Regions from separate parts of the Homo sapiens genome. Here all the other regions are linked to region 1. Evidence: promoter capture Hi-C in human tissues and cell types (Jung and others, 2019). All regions are on one chromosome and are shown on one strand. The core of a region is centred on a gene start or on the middle of the fragment in contact, and the rest is flanking DNA. Distances in the headings are between cores, read along the strand shown.

Region 1 (2,873 bases), core at 30-2,529:
AGGTATTTTCCTCCTAATCATGTGCCTGGAATCTTTAGGTAAAAGAGAGATGACTCACATACCCTCATACCCTGCCCCAGCACCCCTACGCCAGGAGTTATTTCTGGAGCACTCGTAACAGTTTTTTATTCTGTTCCCCTACAAGCCACTGACTCTTGATTTGATTCTGTCCCTACAAGCCACCTGGACTCTTCCTGAGAAACAAAGGAGCCTCGTGGGCCCTTCATGGTTTCTACCACCTTCCCTCCCTTTCCTCCCCAGTGCTGGTTCCTGCCCTTCAGAAGGCTGTGTTCCATTCACTCACTCCCAGGTGTGCCCTGGAGGGTGGGAAGTAATAACTGGCCCCAGATGCCCTTATGATCCAAGGGAAGAAATCCAGGCAATGTGCAGACACTGGGTAGACTGGAGCTACGGGACTGGCTGGTCTTCACTGGCTGTATTTTGATCAGGTTATCTTTAATCTCCTTGACCTCGGTCAACATTCAGTTCTGTGAATATTGGGGGAGACGGGGGAAGCTTACCTGGAACACAGTCGGGCGCCAATTCAAACAAGGCCCAGAAAACATTAGGAGTCTGGCCTCTGAGTTGGCTTCTCTGACCCCTAAAATGTGACTAGAGACCGGTGCTAGCCTCTTCCCCCTGCATCTGGGAGGGGAGGGAGTGTCAAGGTGGGTTCACTTTACACTCGGTCCTCCCCTTGTTCTTTCAGCTGCTTCCTGCCCTGCTCCATGGAATCTCATCTAATGGGGTGAAATGCCTAGCACACAGCCAGCATTTTAGGTTTCTCAAATGATCGCTATTGCCATTCATAACAATAACTAACATTCACAACCCTGTGTCGGGTGCCCTCTCACTTGCCCTACATCAGGATCAGCCTGGGTCCTCATTCTCTAGGGCCTCTTTCCCCCAGGGAGGCCTGGAAGTGCAGTCCCGCAGTCCCGGCCGATCGGGACAGCTAAATTGGGAGCGCGATTGAGGCTGGAATGCGGGTGGAGGCACCTGGTCTCCCTCGGCTGCCCGCTCTAGGGGCGCACGCCCCCTCGCCCGTTCCCTCTCCAAGCGTCCTGCTCTAGGTCTGCGAACCCGAGCCTCCCCAGCCTACCCGGGAGTCATGGAGGGAGGGAAGCAGCGTGCGCACCTAGCACACAGCTGCACATTTATTTTCGATGGTTCTCCGAGGCCGGCGGAAGCTGGGAGGGGAGTCGGGGTCGCTCGACTTTCCCGCCGCTGGAGGGGGCGGGGCAACTTGGGCTCTGGCCCCGCCCCTATGCTAGCCCCGCCCTCTTAGGTTGATGGCAGCGGCAGCTGGGGCTGCAGCGGCGCCGGGCTCTAGAGAGCCGCAGGATCGGCCAGAGTGCGGAGCTGGACACCCGGGTCCCAGATACTACAGACACCCGGAGAGGTGGCTCCTTCGCCCTGAAGCCTTCCTCGGCCCCCTACGCACTCGGGCCCCTTCCGCAGAGGATTCGCAGCGTGAGCGCCCCGCAGCCCGCTCAGGACCAGGTACCCAGCCCCCCACACCCGGCCGTCACCGCAGCCAGCGGAGCGGGCGGGGTCCCTGAGGGGCAGAGGTCTGCGCCTCCTCCCCCCGCGCCGCCAAATTCGGTTTCGGGCGGGGAGGACGTGGTGTCTATATTTGGCCGGACAGCAGCCAGCGCTCCCGGAGGGCGCAGACACCTCGTCTCGCAAGAACGCAGTGTCAGGGCAGCAGGCTGAAGAAGGGTGCAGGGAGGCCGGGCCTCAGGCTCGGGGCCGCAGACGCGCCTTGAAGGGCACACGGATGCTGGGGCTGGGGTGGGGCAGGAGCCACTGGCTGGGGCTTTGGGAGTGCTCAGTGTGTCCTCTAGGGAGACCCTAGCTGGAGAAAAGGCACCTCACCCTCCCCACCCCTGCAAATCTGGCTTGGCCGTGGCGGGGGCAGGGGTGGAGGATGGGGTTGAAGACCCCACCCCTAGAAGAGTTCACTAGGAAGAAGGCCCAACCAGGGCAGAGGACCCAGAGGAGAAACCGGACAAGCCTATGGTAGGCAAAAGCCAGAAGACCATGATCAGGGCTTCCTGGAGAAGCCAGTGCAGAAAGGAGTGGGAGAAGAGGGATCCACCTCACTCTGTGCTGCCACCCGTCCCCCCACAAGGCATGGGATGAAAACAGTAGCAGAAAGGACTCAGATTGGTGGACAGGAGGAACTTCCCCCTTGGCAAAATTTTAGGAAAAGGCAAAACCCCATCTGCCTGAACTATTCCAGAGATGCGAGTTCGGTATCCTGTGGTGGCTGCAGTCTTGGCCCCATACCTGGCTTTAAGCCAAGATCCAATGGTCAAGTCTTCTGCTTCTGGACAGGGTGCCTCTGGGAGCTACAACCACGTCCGTGAAGAGATGCTCATCAAGGCTGGCGGTGGTGGGGGCGGGGGGTGCAGGCAGTGTGGCATTGAGGCTCCTCCCAAAAACATTCCAACGTCCAGAAAGCTTTCAGTCTGTTAGGCTCCACAATCCCCTCAGCCTGGGTCTCTGTGGAGAATTCAGGCCCCAAATCCTAGCCACTTACATTAAACAGCATTTTACACAGCAAAATAACTTTCCCATACTTTGACCACCTTGAAGAAAGCTCCCTGCTTCTAGGACCAGACACTATATGGATTTATACCTGACTCCTGACCACATAACCCTTCTCATCAGCCACCCCTCCACTCCTCCTCCCTCCCGCAGCTCACAGGACTAAGGACCAAAGGCATTTCTGGGCACTGAGATCCTACCTCTCTGCCTGCAGCTATGAGCAGACGTGTGGTTCGGCAAAGCAAGTTCCGCCATGTGTTTGGGCAGGCAGCAAAGGCCGACCAGGCCTACGAGGACATCCGTGTGTCCAAGGTCACATG
Region 2 (3,065 bases), core at 266-2,765, 460 kb before region 1:
AACACAAATACGTCCCTTCTAAAAGTTCATTCCCGCTTTGTGGGTCTTAATGGTCAATGGTTGGATTTCTGTTCTGTAGCATAAAATTCTATTCCTGTGATTAATGCTATGGGACACATGAGGCTGAGGCATGGATATGTAACTGAGGCTGAAAGTCCTTCCATAAGTAATGGGGAACTTCTCAAAAGACTGAAACATACATTCAGGGAACAGGAGCAAGTATGATGATGTTATCTGTATACACAGCTTTACTCTCATCGGATTTCAGGTTTCACTCTTTAAAAAGTATTAGAAAGAGAGGCCATCCTACCATCGCTCTTGAAGACTTCTATGACTTACCTGATAGAATCTGATCTCATGAGGTAGAAAGATGTTTATTTCGTGGGGATCTCTAAGGGTATCAACAGCCAAGACCCCAAAGATCCTCATATATGCATCTTGAAGAGGCAGAGCCAGGAATGAACCATTATAATCATGCTTATTACGGGACTGGTTCCAGAAGAAGATGTTCCCATGGTACTGAACTTGGGGAACATGGATTGGCTTCCCTTCATCCACTACTGTAAAGCTGAGGAAAAAGAGTATGAGGATGGAAGAAAGGCACAGGGAGAGATTTAGATTAAACCATGGAGGAAACTAGAGCGATTCTCTATTCACAATCTGTGGCATTATATGACCGAGCAGTGGACTCAGATAAGATGACCAGTTTGGAGGTCTGACTTGAGAAAGACTAAAACAAAAACAAAACAAACAAACAAAAAAAAAAAAAACAAGCTTGGATGTGGACATAGAAAACAAATATAAACAGAACTCCAGAGACATAACTTATGGAGCAGGCAGAAATAATTGAGATGATATTGTGACGCAGAGTCCCCATGTGGCGAATCATTACCAAAGAGCGAGCTCTAGAAATAAGTGAAATCATCCAGGACTGGAAGCCATCAGCTTCTACTCCAGAAGCACTGGTGACTTGAGGCACCTCTCTTTTGAGCAGCTAGCTGGGATCTTGATGCCAGTTTACTCAGAAAGGGAATTATTTTTTTAGGAGGGTGAAACCAATCTCTTCAAGAAGTTCTTACCTGATTCCTTTCATGTCCCTGTAGAGCACTCTGTTCAGTACAAATTGAGCATCATCTAAGGTACAAGCCACATTCCTCAATAGAACATTCCCTTTCTCAGGCAGTAGTAGGTTTTCTTCTAAGAGGGAAATGTGAGCACTGATCTTTTTATTTCCATGGGCTTCAGCATCCTACAGCAAAACGTTTCCGACCATGTGTTTGCCAACAGCCAAAGAACTCCCCTAATCATGTCCCCCTTACTAGTTAATTCATGCATCTTGCCCCAGTAGTTTCATTTTCCTGAATAAAGAATGCATATATTACTATTCATGGGCAGTGGGGAAAAGGTTGACAGCATAGCTATCCTGTAAGTCTGAGTTTCAGTGGGTATAACGGGTTTCTTCTATGCCAACTGGACTGGTTTACCAGAAAAGAAAAACAAAACCAAAAAACTCTCAAGTCTACTCAAATTTAGAGGTTTAAAACTTGGATTCCTTTGACCTATGGTCAACTGTCTGTGTTTCTATTGAAAGTGTTGATTTGAGAGAGAGAGAGCTGGGCCAAGAAGTTGCCTTCACTTCACTCATATTTCTTGACCGTCGACTGTGATGTGAAAGTGAAAAAAAATGCTCTCGAGGAACTCTTAACACACTTTGTATATTTGATCTATGTAATTTCAGGAAGGATTTTTTTGTGGCCCAAGATTGCAGACTTTCTGCAACTACTATTTCTGCAACTATAAATTCTCTGTACCTTAAATATTATTATTATGTTATTAACAATATTATGTGTCAATATATACATTAAACATATCCATAAATTGGGGACATGTGAGACACTTTCCTTGATATTTTTCTCCTCTTTCTATATATTTGGGTTTGCTTTCCATGCCCTTTTCTTTTGCCTTTATTCCTTCTTTCCACATACAAGATCTATGGAGTCATTAACAAATATGTAGCGAGATTTCTCTTAGGATACCACAGACCTCTGAAGCAAGTTAGAACAATGCCTCTTCTTCTTGAGTGGTCTTTTGGTCCCGGTGCCCCATTTCCAACTACACTGGAAAATTCGGCCATTCAGGAGATGATTCAATTGAGCAAGTATCGCTATTTAGCTGAGATGACTGGCATAGGTTCCCTGGATTAGTGGAATCTATGATACATGTAGAAGGCGGCTGTGCTGTTTCTGCCTGTGAATAGCAGCAACCTGGGAGTCTCTGAGGAGGTGGCAAGGCTGTAGGCAGTAGCCCCTCAGGGCCATGCGTTCTAAGTGACAGGATTCTGCAGTAGTCTCAGCTTGCTTCTAGGCAATGCTGTGAAATATTGTGTGGTGTCAGACTCGATAATGAGTTTATGATTTAAATAGTTCCTTTTAAAACTGACTCCCAAAATACCATGCAAGGGAAATGTAGCTTGAACTGCTTGTACATCTCCTTACTGATATTGTTCATAATCTGTCTATTGTCCATTCTAGGCTTATTTGACTCTTAGCAGAAATGAAATTAGAAATCCCAAGACATCTTTTCTACATCTGTCTTTTCTACCTTTCTCCTCTGCTTCTATCTTGTCAACCAGCAGTCACTCCAGTTGTATCTCTCCTAGGCTTTGGGCCATTTGTAATGGACTGGAATGAATAAAATATCTACAGCAGCACCCAGTGATTTTTCAAGAGAATTCAAGATGCTCCTCTTTTGCAAACATTGAACATCGCCTACTTTGAGGAAATGTTTCCTCTTACATACTGCTTTAGGAAACGTACCTGCATGAGGGCCTTAAAGGTCTCACTATACACCGGCTCTAGGGACACCCCACTTGTCTCTGCAGCACATTGGATTTGGTGCAGCCATTTCCGCCTGGCAGAATTCCTCAGACTCTCAATGTGGCTCCTCTCTAAAGCATTCATCAGAAATTCCACAACACTTTCCAGAACTTGGTCTTCATTGCCCCTGAGTTCAGACACAACCAATTCTATGTAATTCTGAAATTGTTTTGAAGACAATCTCACTTC
Region 3 (2,937 bases), core at 30-2,529, 490 kb before region 1:
AAAATAAGCCCATACCTGCATATATTTTTTTTGAAATAGAAATTAAACCTTTATGTTTAAATGTTAACAAATACATCTACTACCTCTTCCACATGAAGCTACCAAATCAAAACATGTCATAAGCTTTATGAACACGTAACAGACTGTTTTTGCTTCTCAGTGATCTCAAAATTCTAACATGCCGTAAGATTCTATAATTACTACTCTAAGTGATCATTTGTGGACACGGGCCAAACTCGAATACCATTTTTATCAAAGAAGAGAAGTAAATGAAAAGTTCAGAAATGTTTTAAGATGGCGAAGTGACAGTAACATTTAAAAAAAAAAAAAAAAAACATGTGTAGTGGAAAGTTTAGTTCATGTCCACTAAAGATTTTAAAATGCTTTCAACTATCCTTGTGGTCTAAACAGTCAAGAAAATGGCTAGATTTTTTTTCCTACTGTGTACTTACACAGTTTCTAAGAACTGACTGGATAGTGTAACTCACGAAAATTTTTAAAAGATAACTGAGAAACCCAAGTAGCCATGGGGCAAGTTCGCATTACACTTTATTAAGATCATGTGCTTTGCCTCGGAGCATCTGAGAGAACCATCCCATCAGATCCAACTCCTTTAGTTTCTCACGTTTTGGCCTTTAAGATGCGGAGATCACGGGAGGCCGCATCAAAAGTAAGGATTACACATCAAAGGTAAAACTTTCAAGTACGTACAGTATTTGTCTCTTTTGCGGCAACGTATACCCCAATTTCCTATATGCCTACCCTTTTTCTGTGGCTTCTCAGAACAATATTCCTAAAACGAGAAGGAAGGGCGGGAATCAGGACTTGAGCTTCTGCCAAGGAGAACAAGGCCCTCTAAGGAAGCCAGGAACTGTCTCTCTTCACACTGCCCCTGAGAGCATCCAAGCGGGGAGAAACTCAAGCGCGGGTTAGGAAGCAAGACTGAGGGGCCTCAGACCGAGCTTTTGGAAAATAGAAAAGTCTCGCTCTCTGCCCCTCAGCCTAACTTCCTTTATTTCCTCACAAGTTTCTCCCTCAAACTTCGGGCTTCCATCCGGGAAAATGTACGGGGGAGGGGAATCTATGTTCCTCAGGACTTCTCGTTTTTTCCCGTCTCTACCCTTGACGACACAGTCCCTTCACTTCCAGCGCATTTAAAACTCCTCGGCCAAAGATACAGTCGCCGTAGTTTCTCATCCCCCAGCCTGACCCTAACTCCCGGATCACTCACTGCCTGCCCGGAATCGCCATCTTGCTCCCGTGTCCGCTGAACGTGGCCGACGCCTCCGTGACGCTGACGCCGATGTCGTCACGTAAACTCTCGCGCGGCTTTGGGTGGCCCGGATCCTGCTTGTCGGTTGAATCGCTGGTTTGAGTCACTTCTATGGTACTGGGAATCGGATCCAGTGACCTCTGTTTTGTTTCGGAGCCCACCGGCTGCCTCAAAATCTGTAGGAGAAAGGAATGACAACGTTCTAGGCCAGTTGTTCGCAGTGTGTGGTTCTGGGACCAGCGGCATCAGCAACACCGGAGATACTGTTAAAATGACAAATTCTCGGGCCCTACCCCAAACCTGCAGAATCAGAAACTTTGGAGTGAAGCGAGTTATCTGAATTTTAACCAGCGGGTAATTCTGATAAAGTTTGAAAACCACTGCCATGGCTATCGATATTCCCCCTACCCCCTTCCAAGTGTTCACTTTAACTGGTTCAGGATAATTAGGCGAAAAATGAAAATCTGTGTATTAATAATACCTTACATAGGACCAAAATTATTATTAAAAAAAAAATTTTTTTTTTGAGACGGAGTTTCGCTCTTGTTGCCCAGGCTAGAGTGCAAAGGCGCGAACTCGGTTACCTCAACCTCCGCCTCCCGGGTTCAAGCGATTCTCCTGCCTCAGCCTCCCGAGTAGCTGGGATTACAGGCATGTGCCACCACGCCCGGCTAAGTTTGTATTTTTAGTAGAGACGGGGTTTCTCCATGTTGGTCAGGCTGGTCTCGAACTCCCGACCTCGGGTGATCCGCCCGACTCGGCCTCCCAAATTGCTGGGATTACAGGCATGAGCCACCGCGCCCGGCCCAAGGACCAAAATTATTAATAATACTGTTCACGGGCCATTGGGTATAGGAATCAGGATCATATATGATACTTTTTTTTTTTTTTTTTTTTTTTTGAGACGTAGTCTCGCTCTTGTCGCCCAGGCTGGAGTGCAGTGGCATAATCTTGGCTCACTGCAACCTCCGCCTCCCAGGTTCAGGCGATTCTCCTGCCTCAGCCTCCTGAGTAGCTGAGATTACAGGCGTCCGCCACCATGCCTGGCTAATTTTTGTATTTTTTTAGTAGAGGCGGGGTTTCACCATGTTGGCCAGGCTGGTCTCAAACTCCTGACCTCATGTGACCCACCCGCCTCAGCCTCCCAAAGTGCTGGGATTACAGGCGTGAGCCACCGTGCCTGGCCCATATATGATACCTTTTTGAAAACTCTGCCCACATCTGTGCACTCATTCACTCTTGGTTCATTCCCAGCTAGTCTCAGAGCAGCCAAAGAGATCAATTACTGAGATAAGGATGTTGAAATCTCCAACTATAATTGCGAATTTGCTTCTCCTTTCAATTCTATCAGTTTGTGTCGTGTATTTTGAAATTAGGTATGTAAACATTTAGGATTGTTACGTTCTCTTGCATTAACCTCTACTAACCTCTATAGCATTAAGAAGTGGCCCTCTTTATTCCTTTATTCTTCTTTGTCTGCTTGGTCTGCTATCAATATAACTAGCTTTCTTTTGATTAATGCTAGCATAGTGTATCTTTTTCAACCCATTTTAATCTATTTGTGTATTTACATTCAAATTGGATCACTTGTTGACAGAAAATAGTTGGGTCTTGCTTTTTTATCCAGTCTGACAGTCTCTTCCATTTAATTTGGATGCTTAAAA
Region 4 (2,911 bases), core at 357-2,856, 260 kb before region 1:
CTATTCTGAACTCTTTATCAATATGATCTGATTCAGTCCTGACAACCACCCTCTGAAGATGTGTACTATTACCATCCTCATTTTACAGATGAGGAAATAGAGGCACAGATAAGGGGTAGGACAGGATTAGAATCCAGGCAATCCGACTTCAGAGACCCTTGTCTTGAAAGCACGTACCAAAGATTGGCCTGCCTTACCCTTCTTGTCTTAAACTCCAGTCTTGAATTCCATGTCATTTTTGATGGGTCTAGGAAATAGGACCTAGGAAATACACCTAAAGTACTCTGTTTTGTTTTTGTTTATTCTTACTAAAGCTCAAGTTTATCCTCTATTGATCCTCACTAAATAATTTCGTAGTTATAATATCTAAGATGTACAAAAATTTCTATGCCTGCTCCAAGATTTTTTTTTATTGTGTTCTATGCTAATAGCTTGCTTTTATAACACTACTACTGATCTCAAGTATTAAGTTGTTAACAAAATATCCTCTATAGGCATATAATTAAATAAGATAGGTGGCCCCAAAGTAGTATAAGCTGCATGATGTTGAAGAAATTACATTGGCTCGATAGGAGAGCCATTCATCTGGCTTTGCTACCACTTAACTCTGGCTCTGGTCAATCTTTTCATCTTTCTAGTCCTGGTTTTCTTATCCGAGAAAAAAATCTTTAATCTCTAAGGTCCTGTCCAGCTTTAGCACTTAAGGATACCACATACTCTTGGTAAAGTGTCTTCAGAACTGTGTAATAGAAGTTGAAGGAGCGCTATAATTGGTGATTAACATTCAGCCCCTTGTTACTTATGCAACTTCTTCAGCAGGCTTGAATTTCTCCCCAGAAAATGGGTTATTTTCTATCACATCATCAGTCTGCAAATTTTTCAAACTTTTTTTTTTTTTTTTTTTGAGATGGAGTCTTTCTCTGTCGCCCAGGCTGGAGTGCAGTGGCATGATCTTGGCTCACTGCAACCTCCACCGCCTGGGTTCAAGCAATTCTCCTGTCTCAGCCTCCCGAGTAGTTGGGACTACAGGTGCACGCTACCATGCCTGACTAATTTTTGTATTTTTAGTAGAGACAGAGTTTCACCATATTGGTCAGGCTGGTCCCAAACTCCTGACCTCAGGTGGTCCATCCACCTCAGCCTCCCAAAGTGCTGGGATTACAGGTGTGAGCCACGACACCCGGCCATTTTCCAAACTTTTATGCGCTGCTTCTTCTTGAACACTTTGCCACTTAGAAATTTCTTCCACCAGATACCTAAATCATCTCTCTCAAGTTCAAAGTTCCACAGAACTCTATGGCAGGGGCAAAATGCCACCAGTCTCTTTGCTAAAACATAGCAAGAGTCACCTTTGCTCCAGTTCCCAAGTTCCTTATCTCCATCTGAGACCACCTCAGCCTGGACCTTATTGTCCATATCGCTATGAGCATTTTGGTCAAAGCCATTCAACAAGTCTCTAGGAAGTTACAAACTTTCCCATATCTTCCTGTCTTCTGAGCCCTCCAAGTTTCTAGGAAGTTCCAAACTTTCCCACATTTTTCTGTCTTCTTCCGGGTCCTCGAAACTGTTCCAACCTCTGCCTGCTACTCAGTTCCAAAGTTGCTTCCACATTTTCGGGTATCTTTATAGCAGTGCCCCACTACCTGGTACCTATTTACTGTATTAGTCTGTTCTCACGCTGCTAATAAAGACATACCTGAGACTGGGTAATTTATAAAGGAAAGAGTTTTAATGGACTCACAGTTCCACATGGCTGGGGAGGCCTCACAATCATGGTGGAAGAATAAGGAAGAGCAAAAGGACATCTTACATGGCGGCAGGCAAGAGAGCCATGTGCAGGGGAAATCCACTTTATAAAACCATCAGATCTCGTGAGACTTGCTATCACCAGAACAGCACAGGAAAAACCAGCCTCCATGATTCAATTACCTCCCACTGGCTCCCTCCCATCACATGTGGGAATTATGGGAGCTACAATTCAAGATGAGATTTAGGTGGGTACATACCCAAACCATATCAGTAAGCATTATTGATTAAATCATTGGTCATTGGTAACTGACTCAATCTCCACTCCTTCCCTGGTTATGTGATGGAGCTGAAAATTACAAGCTTCTAATCAAGGATTGGTGTTTCTGGTGACTAGCTCCCATCCTAAAGCTATCTAGGGGCCAGCCAAGAGACACTTCCTTAAAACTAAAGATGCTTCTATCACTCGTGTCACTCAGGAAATTCCAAGGGTTTTAGGAGCTCTGTGTCAGGAACTGGGGAAAAAGACCTGATTTTTTTTTTTTTTTTTTTTTTTATGATACAATAGCAAGAAACCCCAGTCTTTGGTTAATAAGAGTTAAAAGTTAGTACCTGCTTGATAGAAAAAAAGCATAATATGCAATAGGTTGCATAAGACTTGGTGAGAAGAAAGAGGAACAGCAAAAGCATGGAAGCCAGAGACACTTGGATAAGTGTAAATGAATTCAGTACTCTAGATAATAAAGCACGTGATGGGAGAAAAAGGGAGGTGCTAGATTAGAGAACTAAGTAGGCAAGAGCCAAGACCTTGGAGGCTTTTTATGCCTTGGTAAGAAATTTAAACTTAAACTTTAGCCCGTACTCAGGCTTTACATTGCATCAGAATAAGTTGAAAAATATGTAAAAATGCAGATTGACCCAGGAATATGCATCTTTACAAGCATCCACAGGTAACCCTGACACAAAAAATACTGCTTTTGGCAGTGAGGAACATAAAAGTTTTATGTAGAGATGTAAGGTCAGAGTTACAATTTAGAGTGGATTGTTGCAGTTGCCAAGTCCTGGAACTAACATAGACTCAAACTAAGGCAGTTGTGGTTGGGATAGACAGGATGAGATAGATTACAGAAATATATAAAAAGTGAAGTGGTAGAGGCCTGATGAT
Region 5 (3,031 bases), core at 184-2,683, 260 kb after region 1:
ACACCTCCCATTAGGCCCTACCTCCCAACACTGTTGGCGTTGGGGATTGTTTCCAACATGTATTCCTTGGGGAACACATTCAAACCACAGCAGGACCCATATCTGTGCATCGTATTAGATGATAAAACTTTTTTTTTTTTTGAGACAGAGTCTCGCTCTGTCACCCAGGCTGGAGTGCAGTGGCGCGATCTTGGCTCACTGCAACCTCTGCCGCCCAGGTTCAAACGATTCTCCTGCCTCAGCCTCCCAAGTAGCTAGGTTACAGGCACCTGCCACCATGCCTGGCTAATTTTTGTAGTTTTAGCAGAGACAGGGTTTCACCATCTTGGCCAGGCTGGTTTTGAACTCCTGACCTTGTGATCCACCCACCTCAGCCTCCTGAAGTGCTGGGATTACAGGCATAAGCCACCGCACCCAGCCAATAAAACATTTTTATATTTTATTTTGCTTTATTTGTCTTTGTATCTTCTATAGTACCCATTTTCAAGAAATATATATTGAGGATCTGTTCTGCTCAGAAATGGAATAGAATTTGTATGTTTTAACCAGGTCAAAGTCCATTCATAAACTTAACATTTATTGTCTTATTGCTGTATGAGAATACTGTGACAGATAGGAAGTGTAAAGGGTTGGACCAACATTACTCTTACAGGAGATGAGAATCTGTGGGTAATTTTTTTTTTTTTTGAGACAGTCTCGCTCTGTTGCCCAGGCTGGAGTACAGTGGCACGATCTCGGCTCACTGCAGCCTCTGCCTCCCAGGTTCAAGCAGTTCTCCCACCTCAGCCTCCCTAGTAACTGGGATTACACACAGCTAATTTTTGTATTTTTGTAGAGACGGGGTTTCACCATGTTGGCCACCTCGTCATGAACTCCTGACCTCCGGTGATTTGTCCACCTCGGCCTCCCAAAGTGCTGGGATTACAGGCATGAGCCACCGCGCCTGGCCTTACTTTTTTTTTTTTTTTGAGACAGTTTCACTCTGTTGCCCAGGCTGGAGTGCAGTGGAGTGATCTCAGCTCACTGCAACCTCTGCCTCCTGGGTTCAAATGATTCTCCTGCCTCAGCCTCTTGAGTAGCTGGGATTATAGACGCCCACCACCTCGCCTGGCTAGTTTATATATATATATATATATATTTTTTTTTTTTTTTTTTTTTTTTTTTTGAGAGGAAGTCTCGCTCTGTCACCCAGGCTGGAGTGCAATGGCACGATCTCAGCTCACTGCAACCTCTGCCTCCTGGGTTCAAGCAATTCTCCTGTCTCAGCCTCCCGAGTAGCTGGGATTACAGGCATGCGCCACCACTCCTGGCTAATTTTTTGTATTTTTAATACAGACGGGGTTTCACCATGTTGGCCAGGCTGGTCTTGAACTCCTGACCTCAGGTGATCCACCCATCTTGGGCTTCTAAAGCGCTGGGATTACAGGCATGAGCCACCATGCCTGGCCGATAAATTTTTTGAAATGGTAAATTTGGATCATAAAATAACAGGGCATTTTAGATTAGAAGAAGAGTATACTTAAAAGCAGAGAGGTGGCCAGGCACGACGGCTCATGTCTGTAATCTCAGCACTTTGGGAGGTCTCCTTTTGGGAGGCCAAGGCAGGCAGTTTGCCTGAGCTTAGGAGTTTAAACCAGCCTGGGCAACATGGTGAAACCCCGTCTCTACAAAAAACACAAAAATTAGCCAGCCTTGATGGCGGGCACCTGGAGTCCCAGCTACTTGGGAGTCTGAGGTGGGAGGATTGCTCGAGGAGGTTGAGGCTGCGGTGAGCTGTGATGGCACCACAGCACTCCAGCCTGGGTGATACAGGGAGACCCTGTCTCAAAAAAATAAATAAATAAAAAGCAGAGAGGCAAGAATGTGTATGGCATGTTTGGGAAACATTGGTTGAGTGGCATTTACTTTGTAGTCATGAGTTCTCACCAAAGAAGATATATGGATGGCTAACAAATGTAGTAGAAGATATTCAACAGCATTAGTCATTAGGGAAATGCCAACTGAAACCACAGAGATACCACTTCACATTCACTAGAATGGTTATAATTAAAAAGACCGACAATGCCAAATGTGTATGAGGTTATGGAGAAATTAGAACCTTCATGCATTGTTAGTGGGAATATAAAATGATACTGCCACTTTGGAAAATAGTTTTGGAGTTTCTTTAAAAGTTCAACATAGGCCAGGAGTGGTGGCTCAAGCCTCTAATCCCAGCACTTTGGGAGGCTGAGGCGGGCAGATCACGAGGTCAGGAGATCGAGACCATCCTGGCTAACACAGTGAAATCCCATCTCTACTAAAAATACAAAAAATTAGCCGGGCCCGGTGGCACGCACCTGTAGTCCCAGCTACTTGGGAGGCTGAGGCAGGAGAATTGCTTGAACCCAGGAGGCAGAGGTTGCAGTGAGCCGAGATTGCGCCACTGCACTCTAGCCTGGGCGATAGAGTGAGACTCCATCTCGAAAAAAAAAAAAGTTCAACATAAACTTACTCTATGACTCAGCAATTTCACTCCTAGGTACTGCTCAAGAGAAATGAAAATATATGACCACACAGAAGCTTGTATGTGAATGTTCACAACAGCATTATTCATAATAGCCAAAAAGTGGAAACGACCCAAATGGTGAATGGAACAAAACACAGTATATTTGTACAACAGAATATTGTTCAGCCATAAGAAGGAATGAATGACTGACACACTATACAACATGGATGAACTTCAAAAACATCATGCTAAATGAAAAAAGCCAGACACAAAGATTCTATTTACATGCAATGTAGGATTCCATTTATGTAAGTTCCACAAAAGGCAACTCTATAGAGACAGAAAGCTGATTAGTAGTTGTCTGGGGCTAGGGTTGGGAGCAGGAATTGACTGCAAATGAGCACAAGGGAACTTTTTGGGGTGAGGAAAATATTCTAAAAACTGAATTGTGGTGATAGTTGCACAACTCTATAAATTTACTAAGCATTGAACTGTACACTTATAACAGGTGAATTTTATAATGCATAAATTATTTCTAATTAAAGC
Region 6 (3,061 bases), core at 257-2,756, 330 kb after region 1:
GAATATTAGTCAGCCTTAAAAAAGAGGGAAATTCTGATGTATGCTACTCTGAAGACATTATGCAAAAAAGCTAGTCACAAAAAGACAAATACAGTACAATCCCACTTATATGAGGTACCTAGAATAGTCAAGTTCGTAGAGACAGAAAACAGAACAGTGGTTATCAAGGGATGGAAGGAGGAGGGAAAGGACATTTATTTTTATTGGGTATGAAGTTTCAGTTTGGAATGATGAAAAAGTTCTGGAGATAGATGATGGTCATGGTTCTACAACAATACGAATGTACCTAATGCACCTGAACCATACACTTAATATTAAGATGGTAAATTTTATATTATGAATATTTTACAATTAAAAAAATCCCCCAATCTATAACATACATTGGGAAAAGTGCATTTTATCTGTATATTCAGTTTAACAAATAATTACTAAGCAAATATATGTAATCACCACCTAGCCCCCAAAATGAAATATTATCAGAGTAACCTGTGTCCCTCCCCATCACAACCCTCTTCCTTCCTGAGTAACCACTATCATGGCTCTAACATTTGCTTTTGAAAATCATATACTGTGATGTGGTAATGCAGGATAAGTTAAATCTACACTACAAAACGCTACAGAATATTTCTTTTAATTTCAATTTTTCCATAAGTGCCAAAAAAAAAAAAAACAAACCCACTTAATAACTTTTAAGTGCTCTTTCTCCCCTTCCTTTGCTCTTGAAACTTCTCATTCTAAAACCTATTTTGGTTCCACAGTTGACCTCACCTGCAGAGTTTAATTAAAAAAAAAAAAACCTTCAGTGTAAATTTTCATTCCTCCTGCTCTCCCTTGCCTCCAACTACAAAGAAACAATGATTTAAACCCTTTGTGCCCTTTTAGAAAATTACACAGATACCCCATTGTGGAACCCTATAATCCCTTCGTGGAAAGGAAGAGATTAGCATATGAATACAAAGCAAAATGAATCCAGAATACAAAATGATCTACTGGATTGTGAAGCTCTTGTATGCTTAAAAATGTATTTATTTCCTCTTTTTGTATTGCCCCTTTAGTGGTCTCGGGGTTAAGGGAATTGAGCTTCCCTTTCTGGTTACCCGGAAAAGGATTAAAAACAAAACAAAACAAAAAACAAAAAAACACCAGATTCTAAGAGGTGCAAAGCCAGCAGATGGCTCACAGCACCAGTGGAATCGCCAGTGGAATCTGCTACCCTCGACACGAGCCTGCTTGCCGGCGAGGAGTGTAGAAAGTGCTGTTCACAGACTGCGTGGTGAAGGAGAGAAAGCGACAGAAGAGAGAGCCATAGTGCTGACGTTGAAGGCCCGGCCCTGTGAGGTTGCACAGGGTAAGTGGCGTTGGCCAGGCGGCAGCGGCGAAGGGGAAGGAAAGAGGATTTGAGCTGGGGGCGGGGCTTGCGGCACAGCGTGGCTCCTGATTGTTGGAGTGCGGCTGCCAATCTCGCAGAATCGCTCGGTTAACCAGTGCGCTGGCGAGACGCGCTCAGATATACTGAGTGAGCCCTGAGAAGCAGTCTCAGATCCTGACGGTGCAGCAGCCCGCAGCCTCAGCCAGGGAGTCCCAGCCGCTTTCAATGGAGGAGAAGCCCGGCCAGCCACAGCCTCAGCACCATCACAGCCACCACCATCCGCACCATCACCCTCAGCAGCAGCAGCAGCAGCCGCACCACCACCACCATTATTATTTCTACAACCACAGCCACAACCACCACCACCACCATCATCACCAGCAGCCTCACCAATACCTGCAGCATGGAGCCGAGGGCAGCCCCAAGGCCCAGCCAAAGCCGCTGAAACATGAGCAGAAACACACCCTCCAGCAGCACCAGGAAACGCCGAAGAAGAAAACAGGTCTGGGAGGGAGGACGGGTGGGGGAAGGGGGTTGGGGGTGGAGGACAGGAGAGATGGGGGTGGGGCTGGATCCGAAAAGCGCGGACGGGGTCGGGGTGTGTGTGTGTGTGTCCCCTCCGGCTCTGGGGATGCCCCTTTCATTCTAGAGCTCGGGCTGAGCAATGGGGTTTGCAGCGCCCTCTCCTTCCCTCCAGCATGGGAGAGGCCCAGCCAGGCCAGCGTGACCTTCCTGGCCCCGGCCCCGGCTGAAGGGAGACCTGCTGGGTCGGCCTTGCAAGTCCAACCTCATTATTCTTTTCCCATTCACCTCCCTGCGTCCCTGGAGTTACCTCAATTTGGGGGCCCTGAGATGGGGTAAACCTACCCCCCCAAAAAATCCCTCGAGGTGTAACTCAGGAAGGCCTAGCGAATCCCGACTCGGATGGTGTCGCGAGACCCTTTTGCAGGCGGCGAGGAGTGGGTAGGTAGGGTGAGTTGAGGAAGTGCCCCTCACCCGCCACCCCAAGCCCACCTGTGGCCTTGGGGCTCCCCGTCTCGGTGGGGGGGGCTGTTGGGACCCCTCATCTCACGGGTCATTTCCACCACTAAACGCCCTTTTTGGGCGCCGGACCCCGCAGTCTTGTCCCGCGGCTCCTCCCGAGGCCGGCGCCCCGCGCCCGCTCCCCCCAGAGCCGGCGCGGCTGGAATGTTCTCTCCTCCTCGCGGGGCCGCTTCCTGTCCGCCATGTTGGAAGCCGATTCCTGTCACCGACTCCGGCCCACTGAGGAGCGGAGGGGGAAGGGTGTCGAGGGCCACACGGGGCGGCGGAGCCGGGTGACCCGGGATCACCACCGGCCGCAGCCTCGCCCCCTGCACTGCGGGGGCGCCGGCGCCCCCCGCACCGCGGCCGCCCCCCCCCCCGTCGCCGGCCGGGGTTGTGTAACCCGGTGGCGGCGCGCGGCCCCGGGCGGGTCCCTGGGGTGAGGGGCGGGGGCGGTTGGGGTGGGGGAGGGAAGCGGCCACGAGGGGAGCGGCCTGCGCAGGGCCCCGCGCGCCAGCGGCCGCGTTTCCCGCTCCCGGGTGCGGCGGGAGGCGCGGGCAGTCGGGGCGGGGAGCCGGCCTCGAAGCGGAGCTGAGAGGGAAGGAGGCCGCGGGCGGCGGCCGCGGCGCTCCTAGAGGCAGGAGGCCTGGGGGGGCGGCGGGGGGATTC

Evidence for each region. The method cuts DNA at HindIII sites, captures the fragments that hold promoters and counts their contacts. A contact is called where the count stands out against the background at its distance.
Region 2: a fragment that was not itself captured here is called in contact with the fragment with the promoter of CORO6 in region 1 in 1 of the 25 tissues and cell types used here (lymphoblastoid cells).
Region 3: the fragment with the promoter of NSRP1 here is called in contact with the fragment with the promoter of CORO6 in region 1 in 3 of the 25 tissues and cell types used here (IMR-90 fibroblasts, dorsolateral prefrontal cortex and hippocampus).
Region 4: a fragment that was not itself captured here is called in contact with the fragment with the promoter of CORO6 in region 1 in 2 of the 25 tissues and cell types used here (dorsolateral prefrontal cortex and pancreas).
Region 5: a fragment that was not itself captured here is called in contact with the fragment with the promoter of CORO6 in region 1 in 1 of the 25 tissues and cell types used here (hippocampus).
Region 6: a contact is called between the fragment with the promoter of NUFIP2 here and the fragment with the promoter of CORO6 in region 1, in 1 of the 25 tissues and cell types used here (adrenal gland).

The regions. Positions count from the first base shown.
Region 1 is chr17:29,621,318-29,624,190 of GRCh38, reverse strand. It overlaps CORO6 (coronin 6), which reads left to right and starts at 1,279. Exons shown (of 11, transcript NM_032854.4): 1 at 1,279-1,503; 2 at 2,707-2,873. The coding sequence starts at 2,770. RefSeq lists an enhancer at 1-678 and a silencer at 1,466-1,615. The HindIII fragment of the contact is 11,130 bases long and covers 1-2,873 here.
Region 2 is chr17:30,078,256-30,081,320 of GRCh38, reverse strand. It overlaps EFCAB5 (EF-hand calcium binding domain 5), which reads right to left. Exons shown (of 23, transcript NM_198529.4): 15 at 2,817-3,065; 16 at 1,080-1,249; 17 at 340-568. Among named protein-coding and RNA genes, the nearest start is that of NSRP1, 37 kb to the left of the region's middle. The HindIII fragment of the contact is 7,904 bases long and covers 1-3,065 here.
Region 3 is chr17:30,115,158-30,118,094 of GRCh38, reverse strand. It overlaps NSRP1 (nuclear speckle splicing regulatory protein 1), which reads right to left and starts at 1,279. Exons shown (of 7, transcript NM_032141.4): 1 at 1,232-1,279; 2 at 1-15. The coding sequence starts at 1,251. It overlaps MIR423 (microRNA 423), which reads right to left and starts at 1,016; the gene lies at 923-1,016. It overlaps MIR3184 (microRNA 3184), which reads left to right and starts at 935; the gene lies at 935-1,009. RefSeq lists silencers at 847-916, 853-1,454 and enhancers at 1,167-1,266, 1,297-1,396, 1,417-1,536, 569-1,768. The HindIII fragment of the contact is 9,957 bases long and covers 1-2,937 here.
Region 4 is chr17:29,884,740-29,887,650 of GRCh38, reverse strand. All of the region lies in intron 1 of SSH2 (slingshot protein phosphatase 2), which reads left to right. Among named protein-coding and RNA genes, the nearest start is that of SSH2, 44 kb to the left of the region's middle. The HindIII fragment of the contact is 5,413 bases long and covers 1-2,911 here.
Region 5 is chr17:29,357,560-29,360,590 of GRCh38, reverse strand. No RefSeq gene overlaps it. Among named protein-coding and RNA genes, the nearest start is that of TAOK1, 31 kb to the left of the region's middle. RefSeq lists an enhancer at 2,672-2,741. The HindIII fragment of the contact is 4,445 bases long and covers 1-3,031 here.
Region 6 is chr17:29,292,593-29,295,653 of GRCh38, reverse strand. NUFIP2 (nuclear FMR1 interacting protein 2) reads left to right here and starts at 1,506. Exons shown (of 4, transcript NM_020772.3): 1 at 1,506-1,871. The coding sequence starts at 1,595. RefSeq lists enhancers at 1,138-1,337, 1,648-1,747, 1,441-2,201 and silencers at 1,908-2,027, 2,658-2,837. The HindIII fragment of the contact is 16,686 bases long and covers 1-3,061 here.